3 separate regions of the Homo sapiens genome follow, and all the other regions are linked to region 3. The links are contacts of gene promoters, found by promoter capture Hi-C in blood cells and fetal thymus (Javierre and others, 2016). All regions are on one chromosome and are shown on one strand. Each heading gives the region's core, a stretch centred on a gene start or on the middle of the fragment in contact. The rest is flanking DNA. Distances are from core to core; before and after follow the strand shown. Region 1 has its middle 57 kb from the start of RBMX. Region 2 has its middle 11 kb from the start of RTL8A. Region 3 holds the start of SLC9A6 (solute carrier family 9 member A6).

Region 1 (3,059 bases), core at 482-2,981, 950 kb before region 3:
CAGGCACCTGCCACCACGCCCAGCTAATTTTTTGTATTTTTAGTAGAGACGGGGTTTCACCGCGTTAGCCAGGATGGTCTTGATCTCCTCACCTCGTGATCTGCCCGTCTCGGCCTCCCAAAGTGCCAGGATTACAGGCGTGAGCCACCGCGCCCAGCAGTTTCTTCATTTTAAGAAGAGGGACAATATATATAATTGCTCACAGGATTGCTGAGACAATTAGAATAATGCATGTAAAGTACTTAGTAGAATGCTTGGTATAGGAAACCTTCAATACATGTTAACTAATATGTCACCCAGGCCTTCAATCCTTAGAAAATGAGTACAGCTGAGTGCGGTGGCTCATGCCTGTAATCCCAGCACTTTGGGAGACCGAGGAGTTCGAGACCAGCAAAACACTGTCTCTACTAAAAAATAAAAATAATAATAATAATACGAAAATTCGCTGGGTGCAGTGGCTCATGCCTGTAATCCCAGCACTTTGGGAGACCGAGGTGGGCAGATCACTTGAGGTCAGGCGTTCAAGACCAGTCTGGCCAACATGGTGAAACCCCTTCTCTACTAAAAATATAAAAATGAGCTGGGCGCAGTGGCACGTGCCTGTAGTCCCAGCTACTCGGGAGGCTGAAGCTGGAGAATTTCTTGAACCCAGGAGGCGGAGGTTTCAGTGAGCCGAGATCGTGCCACTGCCCTCCAGCCTGGGCAACAAAAGACGACTCCATCTCAAAAAAAAAAAAAAAGTACAAACGAGCCTTGACAATTACCACATTAAGTAATCTACAATATATACAGCTCTTGAGATTAAGAATTATGGCTCTGCAAATCTCAGAATTTAGGGTGATGGCCCTGAAGGAATTTTGGAGATCATTTAATACAGTAATGATGAAGAAGGGAAGAGTGATCATGTGAGAGTGTGCCCCAATCAGCTTGAGGTGGGAAGTAAATACTCCTCACTAAAGCACTATGTGTAACTGCTAAAAACTAGAAACAACCAACAATCTCTATCAATCCAGTTAAATAAATTATAGTAAAACCACACAGAGAAATAAAATACAGCTAGTAGATTTGCATACGCTAGTAAGAAAGTATATCCATACTACTAGAGAGAAAAAGCACAGCATAGTGGTTAGGGATGTAGATCCATAGTCAACCTACATATATTCGGCTGGGCAGTGGCTCACAGCTGTAATCCCAGCACTTTGGGAGGCCGAGGGGGGCAGATCACACGAGGTCAGGAGTTTGAGACCAGCCTGGCCAACATGGCAAAACCTTCTCTCCAATAAAAATATAAAAAGTAGTCGGGCGTGGTGGCATGCACCTGTAATCCCAGCTACTCAGAAGGCTGAGACAGGAGAATTGCTTAAACCTAGGAAGCAGAGGTTGCAGTGAGCCGAGATCGCGCCACTGCACTCCAACCTGGGTGACAGAGCAAGACTCCGTCTCAATTTTTAAAAAAAAAGCCAGGTGTGGTGGCTCACGCCCATAATCCCAGCATGTTAGGAGGCTGAGGCGGGCGGATCACAAGGTCAGGAGTTTGAGACAAGCCTGGCCAATATTGTGAAACCCTATCTCTACTAAAAATACAAAATAATAAGCCAAGCATGGTGGCACATGCCTGTAATCCTAGCTACTCGGGAGGCTGAGGCAGAAGAATTGCTTGAACCCGGGAGGCAGAGGTTGCAGTGAGTGAGATCATGCCACTGCACTCCAGCCTGGGTGACAAGAGTGAGACTAGGTCTCAAAAAAAAAAAAACAAGAAAAAAATAAAACTACCTATATTCAAAGCTCAGATATGTTCTGTACTAGCTTGTGTGATCTTTGCCATGTTGTAACCTCTTAGTGTATCAGTTTCTGTACCTGTAATGTAAAGATGGTAACAGTACCCACAGGATGCTGTGAGGATTAAATCAACTCAGGCAAAGTATATCAACCACTGCTCGGCATAAACTAAGTACTCAATGTAATAGGTAAAGGTCCTTCAGTATCTGGATCCCACCTATCTCTCCAGACTCATCACACGCGACAGCCTCTACTTCTAACCTGCTAAATTACTAAAGAGAATTCTGTACTGTGTTCTCACAGCACTCAGCTCATATCTCTATTGTCACTTACATCAAATTGTAGTTGGTGTATTTACACATTTATATCCCCTAGTAAATTGTGTTCCCCAGTACATCACAAAATTAAGAACTCTGTCTGGGTCATTCTAAGGAAGGAGACCACTACTACTCCTGCTGCCCTCCTCCCCCTACCTTGCCTAGTTCACAAGACAGGAGAAAAGACAAAGCAAAAAGTTGGAAAGAAACAAAAGTAAGATAAATAGCCAGACAACCTTGGCACCACTACCCGGCCCTAGGAGTTAAAAAAGTAATAATAACAACATCAACCCCTGACCTAAACTACTTGTGTTATCTGTAAATTCCAGACATTGTATGAAAAAGTATTGCAAAACTTTCTGTTCTGTTAGCTGATGCATGTATCCCCCAGTCACGTTCCCCACACTTGCTCAATTTATCATGACCTTTTCATGTGGACCTCTTAAGAGTTGTAAGCCTTTAAAAAGGCCAAGAATTTCTTTTTCAGGGAGCTTGGCTCTTAAGACACAAGTCTGCTGATGCTCCTGGCTGAATAAACCTCTTCCTTCTTTAATCTGATGTCTGAGGAGTTTTGTCTGCAGCTTGTCCTGCTACATTTCTTGGTTCCCTGACCGGGAAGCGAGGTGATTAATGGACGGTCGACACAGCCCCTTAGGCAGCTTATGCCTGCCCTGTAGAGCATCCCTGTGGGGGACTCCGGCCAGCTTGAGCAATGTAGATCCTGATGAGCGCTCCCAGGCAGGCATTTGCCCCGGTACAACGCCTCATCAGAGCGGTGCATGGCAAGCCCACATGAAGGACCAATGCAGTGGCTGAACACTGGGAAGGAACTGGCACTTTAAGTCTGGACATCTGAAACTTGGTAAGACTGGTCTTTGGAACTTGCCCACTCCATTTGAGTGGAAGCATGGCATGATCACCCACGGCGTGCCTGTACCGGCACTTTGGGTTTTGTTTTTGACT
Region 2 (2,739 bases), core at 225-2,724, 920 kb after region 3:
CGGTGTCACATAGAAGAACCTGACATTTAAGTAATTGAACCACTGTTAGACATTGGTGTCCTTTTGCCTCTAGGATCCCCTGTATTTGATGGGGGCAGGTCATTACATCTAATTGTTGTCCCAAGGTAAACTTACTGACTTCTACCAATAGAGTGGTGGTGGCCACAGCTCAAAAGCATCCTGGCCACCCAGCCACCACTTGGTCTAGCTGTTTAGAAAAGTAAGCCACTGGTATAGGGCTATTCACGAGACTTTGAGTTAGAACACCCAAAGCTGTCCCTTGTTTTTCAGCCACATATAGGGTGAAAGGTTTTTCTAAGTTTGGGAGTCACAAAGCAGGGGCTGTTCCCAATTTTTCTTTTAGGGTTAAGAATGCCTGTTGGCAGGTTCCATCCCAATTCAAAGGCTCATGATCACTCTCTTTTAGAGCTTCATAGAGTGGTTTTGCTATGAGCCCAAACCTGGGACTCCAAATCCAGAAGAATCTGGCCATTCCCAGAAAGATTCTTAATTGTTTCTTAGTCTGAGGGGGCTGGAGTGCCAAGATGGTCTCTTTTTACTCCTGGGCCAGGGTGTTTGCCCCAGGAGTTAACACATACTCCAAATATTTAACCTTTTGTGCAGAAATTTGGGCTTTATTGTAGGAATACCCAATAACCTCATCTTCTCAAAAAAATTAAGAATCTGGATTGTGTTCCTGTCACAGCCTTCCCTGGTTGGGCTGGAAATTAATAGATCATCCATATATTGCTAAAGAGACCCATTATTTAACTAGAGTTTCCTTAATTCTTTTGCCAATGTATTGACAAAGAAATGGGGACTGTCCCTAAAACCTTGAGGAAGAACAGCCCACGTAAGATGAGATGCAGCATGAATGTCTGGATCAGTCCATTCAAAAGCAAAGATATACTGGGTGTCCACGTGTAAAGGTATACAAAAGAAAGCATCCTTTAAGCCTAATACCATGAACTATTAACATCTTCAGGGACTTGGGTCAATATTGTGTATGAATTAGTAACTATTCAGTGGACTGGGACTATTGCCTCATTAACTGCCCTCAGATTCTGAACAAATCTGTATTCCCCATTCAGTTTCTTCACAACCAAAATGGAGGTGTTACGTAGGGACTGACGGGACTGTAGTAATCCATACTTTAGGAACTTCCTTATTAGGGGTTGAATGCCTCTCTGCTCTTCAGGTCTCAAGGTACGTTGTTTTTTGTATGGATACTTAACTCTGGGTTTCAAAATAACCTGGACTGGGAGTACATTAACATCTCTACCAAGAACTTTCATGTCCCAAACAGAGAGGTCTACTTGAGAAGTAAGATGCAGTGAAAGAGAGGTCTTTTATTTATCTGTGTTAAGGCATGTACTTGGAGCTAGAAGAAGTGTCTTTCCCTGGCCTATTGCCTTCTCATAAGGCTCTCCAAATTGAGCTGTGGCCTGTAATTGGGAAAGTTAGTCTCTTCCCAGTAAAGGAATAGGGCACTCAGACATAAGCAGAAAGATATGGGAAAACACATGATTCCCCACAGTGTAACTGAGGGGGTGGGTGAATCACCTAACTTTTGGCTGGCCATCAATCTACATTATGGTACAAGAGTGGGAAAACAATGGCCCTGAGAAATAGGTTGAAACTGAGAAGTCTGCTCCCATGTCCACCAAAAACTCATTATTTTTGCCTGCCACATCAAGAGTTACCCAAAGCTCCTCTATGGAGATAGTAAGGTGTCCATTGGAAACCATAAGAGACCTCAGGCCCTGTCAGTCCTCTGTTCTCTCAGCCATTATGGGTCTGAGTGGTTCAGACTCTCTTTCAAGCCTGGGGCAGTCCTTCCTTCAGTGTTCCTCTTGCTTATAGGCACATTGATTTTGGCCCAGGGGCCAAGAAGTCAGAGGCTTTCATCTGGGCATCCCAACCACGACTCTCGTAACACTTTCTTGACATTTGTAACCCTAAGGCAGTAAGGGGCTTAAGGCAGCCACGAATAATAGCACTTTTTAGCTATTACTTTTAGTTTTCACCTCTTTCTCCACCTTGTCCCTATTATTGTAAATTCCAAAGGCCATATTTAAAAGTTGGCTCATGGGGATTTGATGCTCTATTGCTGCCTTATGTAAATTCCTCCTAATGTCAGAGATAGTTTGAGTAATAAAATACATGACCAGGAGAGCTCACCTTTCCAGAGAGTCAGGATCTGCATTAGTATATTTCCTGAGGGCCTCCACTAAGTGGCCTTGAAATAAAGTGGCATTTTCATATTTTCCCTGAGTTACTTCTCTAACCTTGTCACAACTAACTGGTTTAACCACACACTTTTTCATACCTTCTACTAAACAAGTTAGCATGTAATTTCTGTGTTTGAGATCTTGGGAACCCCTCTGGGAATCCCATTGAGGGTGCAAATAAGGAACTGCCTCTCCCCCCACATTATAAATGGCATGGCCTTGGATATTATTGGCCACTCCATCTGAAAATTCATGGGTAATACCTAGAATCCTTTGTTTCTCCTCTATGTCTATGGTACAGCAAGTGGATAATAATAAGCACAAGTTATGCCAAGTTATTTCAGAGGACATGGTAAATGTATCAAACTCCTCTATAAACTTCCATGGATCCTCCAAAAACCAGCCAAATTTCTCCTTGCATAAAGCCAAATTTGATACAGTAAATGGCACATATACTCTGATTGTTCCCCCATCTCCATCAGCTACCCACAATGGACACAGTTTCACT
Region 3 (2,958 bases), core at 353-2,852:
CAGAAGTCTGGATTTACTAGGGGGCGGGGGTTTGCATGGAGCAATGTCTTTTGTGCCAAAGCTTCATCTACCTATCTGCAAGTCTGAGAGACAAACCTCAACAAGCTCATCGGTTTAACTGCTCCAAATGAAGATAATCTTCACACATGTACTGCACAGAAAGAATTGTTTGTCCGCCCTCATCTCTTTAGCAATACCCGCACAGATTAATACAGTCGGCAATATGTATCTTTTCTCCTCTTGAGGCCCCAGCACAGCTCAAAATGCCTCTGAGCCCACACTTTGATTTACCCCTTCTCGCCTTGTCACCAAAATAATAATAATAATAATAATAATAAACCTCAGAAAGCAGACTGAGACACAAGAATCGAAGCCATTTATTCTACAATCGGTCAATAACCTCATGCCAACAGCAAGTCACCCATACTGCATATGCATGGTGTTTGTAATTACTGTTTGTCTGAACTGTCCTGATCATCGTATAGTACACTATACTTCTGGAAGGACCTTAACTCTTCCTCGTCCTCACTTTTGTATGCCTGAATTGGAAGGGTCAACCACAGGTATCCATATCAGATATTAGAGGCATAGTACAATAAATGGGATGTCATTAAAAATGCCCTAAGCCTTCTGTAGCCTATTTCACGTTCGGGTTTTTTTTTTCGGACTCCACAAGAATAAGATTTTCCTTTGCAACCTCGAAAGGACAGGGCGTAGCAGGAGCTAGGTGTTGAGTAAAGGTCGACTCTGGCTCCAAAAGAACGCCAGATTCTGGGCAGTAGAGATACTACTGCAGTTTCAATGAACCTTAAACAAACTGACACCCCAGAGAAATGGATCGCAATGGTGTCTCCCCTCCCCCAGCCCCCAGCCCAATTCCAGACACCGCGCCCACTCGTTTTCCATCCTCAGCCCCGGGTCCCGAGCTTGGTAGGCAGGGAAAGGGTGGGGGGCTGGGGGTGCGGAGGAAAAAGGGGGTGGGGTCGGAAGCGAAAAAGGTGTGGAGAGGCAGATAAAATGGGGCGCGAGGCTGAAGAGGAAAGGGGGTGAGGCAGAGAAACGCGGGGTAGGGGGAAGGCGAGGCAGAAAATGGAAGGAATTAGAAGGGGAGCCGAACGTAGGCCGAGCAGGGCCAGCAGAGGAGGCGAAGCAGCCGGCGGGCAGAGAAAGGGGCAGCGCCAAGGGGCTGACAAGGGTTGAGGAACTTGCCATAAATCATAGCCAGGCCGGTTTCGTGCAGGAAGCGGGCCCGGCGGTGCTTGAAGAGCCAGATTGTGAGAATGGTGAGGGTGAGCAGCAGGATGAAGATGAGCAGGTTGGCGCTGTCCTGCCGGTGGCTCTCCTCGGCTTGCTTCTCGGACACGATCTCCTCGTCCATGGCTCTAGCCTCTCCGCCGCCGCCGTCCGAAGCCCCTGCCCAGTCAAAGACGCCCACTGCGAGGAGCAACCAAAGGGGCCGCATGAGCCTGCGGGCTCGGGGACTGCTGCCGACGCCACGGCGGAGGGGTGCCCGCCGCCAGCCGCGCCGAGCCATGTCTCCCCCCGCCTCCCGCCCCTACCTCACCGGCGGCCGCCCGCGGTCGGACCACTCCCCGAGGGCTCACGGGAAAGGGGCGGGGCCCGGGGGTAGCCGTCGGAGCGCGCGCCGCCGCCGCCGCTCTTAAAGGGGCCGCGGCATCCCAAGCTCGCTCTGCCAGGTTCCTTTGCCCCTCTGTCCCAGGTCACACGCACCCACAGGCGCTGCCGGGAATGAAAGGCCGTCTAAACTAGCCCACTGCCTTTGGCTAAAGAAACATCGGCTCAGTGTAACCAAGCAGAGGCAGACTGCGCTTTCTACTTTGATCCTATTCTCAGAGCTCTCAGGGGAATTGATCTTTCATAGGAATTGATCTTTCATAACCCATCTCAATATCGTCCCCCAGTGTCTCTTAACAGGATAAGTTGTCCCCTTGGGAGGAGCCTCAATCTCCATCTCTGTAATTTAAATTTAAATCGGATTCTCCTTGTATTGTCCTCATCGGGAAAGAAAAAAAAAAAAACACAAAAAAACACCACACACACACAGAGCACTGTAGCAGTTCATAAAACAATCGACTCAAAGGTATGGATTATGTGTGTGTCTGTGTAGTCGGTTTTCTTTACATGTAAACATCTGATATAAGTCATCTCTCACGCTAGGAATCTGTACACAGAAACTCATCAACCTTACAGCAAAGATTGGATCGGTTTGTGCTTAGATTTCCCAATGCTCGTAAACACTTCCCTCCCGAAGAAAAAATCTTGGGTGGTGTGGTGGATTTCTCCTTCTCCTCTTGCTCCTTTTTACTGCTGTTTTAAAGCAAATGTCCCCAGCTCCGAAGTCACCCTTGACCCCTATCTCTCATCTCTCCTCTTTAGTATTCCTCAGGACAGTATTTTTTTTCTGTTCTCAGCCTGTCCAACCTCTCTCACCAGAATTTTCACAGTTCTCACCTCCATACTGGAGCTTTGTCTTTTGAGAACAGTGACTTCCTATTTTTTCTGTATTTCTCCGATCGCTCCTTAGTTTGTGTGGGCTCTTTGTTTTCTCAAGACTTTGATTTCAACATGAATGATCTACAAGTCTCAAGCCCTGGCCTGCTGCCCCAACTTCAGGCCTCTACCTGTTGGATTCTGAGCATACCCTGTTGAGGCTCCTACCACCCTCAAAACTAAAAATATTTTGAAATGAGCTCATTTGAAATGAGTTCCCCCTGCAAGTACAAATTCCTTCTCAAATTCTTCATACCATCAGTGGTACCACTGTCAGTTCAATTCCTATCATTCTGCCTGGAACTCATGATTCTCAAATGGTTCTTTCCATCTCATGGCCATATAACCTCCTTGCTAAAACAAGTAATACTCAGGCAACTCCAAGCTGCCCCTGTGTGTATTCACCCTCACTAACCAGCTCTCTAAGCTCTCAGGATGATGAGCTAA

What was found. The method cuts DNA at HindIII sites, captures the fragments that hold promoters and counts their contacts. A CHiCAGO score of 5 or more calls a contact.
Region 1: a contact is called between a fragment that was not itself captured here and the fragment with the promoter of SLC9A6 in region 3, in 1 of 17 cell types (activated CD4 T cells). The highest score is 5.1, in activated CD4 T cells.
Region 2: a fragment that was not itself captured here is called in contact with the fragment with the promoter of SLC9A6 in region 3 in 1 of 17 cell types (neutrophils); the score reaches 5.0 in neutrophils.

Annotation. Positions count from the first base shown.
Region 1 is chrX:136,935,801-136,938,859 of GRCh38, reverse strand. No RefSeq gene overlaps it. Among named protein-coding and RNA genes, the nearest start is that of RBMX, 57 kb to the right of the region's middle. RefSeq lists an enhancer at 2,983-3,059. The HindIII fragment of the contact is 9,577 bases long and covers 1-3,059 here.
Region 2 is chrX:135,061,600-135,064,338 of GRCh38, reverse strand. No RefSeq gene overlaps it. Among named protein-coding and RNA genes, the nearest start is that of RTL8A, 11 kb to the right of the region's middle. The HindIII fragment of the contact is 5,064 bases long and covers 1-2,739 here.
Region 3 is chrX:135,984,079-135,987,036 of GRCh38, reverse strand. SLC9A6 (solute carrier family 9 member A6) reads right to left here and starts at 1,602. Exons shown (of 18, transcript NM_001379110.1): 1 at 1,560-1,602; 2 at 1,210-1,434. The coding sequence starts at 1,378. RefSeq lists an enhancer at 1,202-1,321 and a silencer at 1,472-1,711. The HindIII fragment of the contact is 4,728 bases long and covers 64-2,958 here.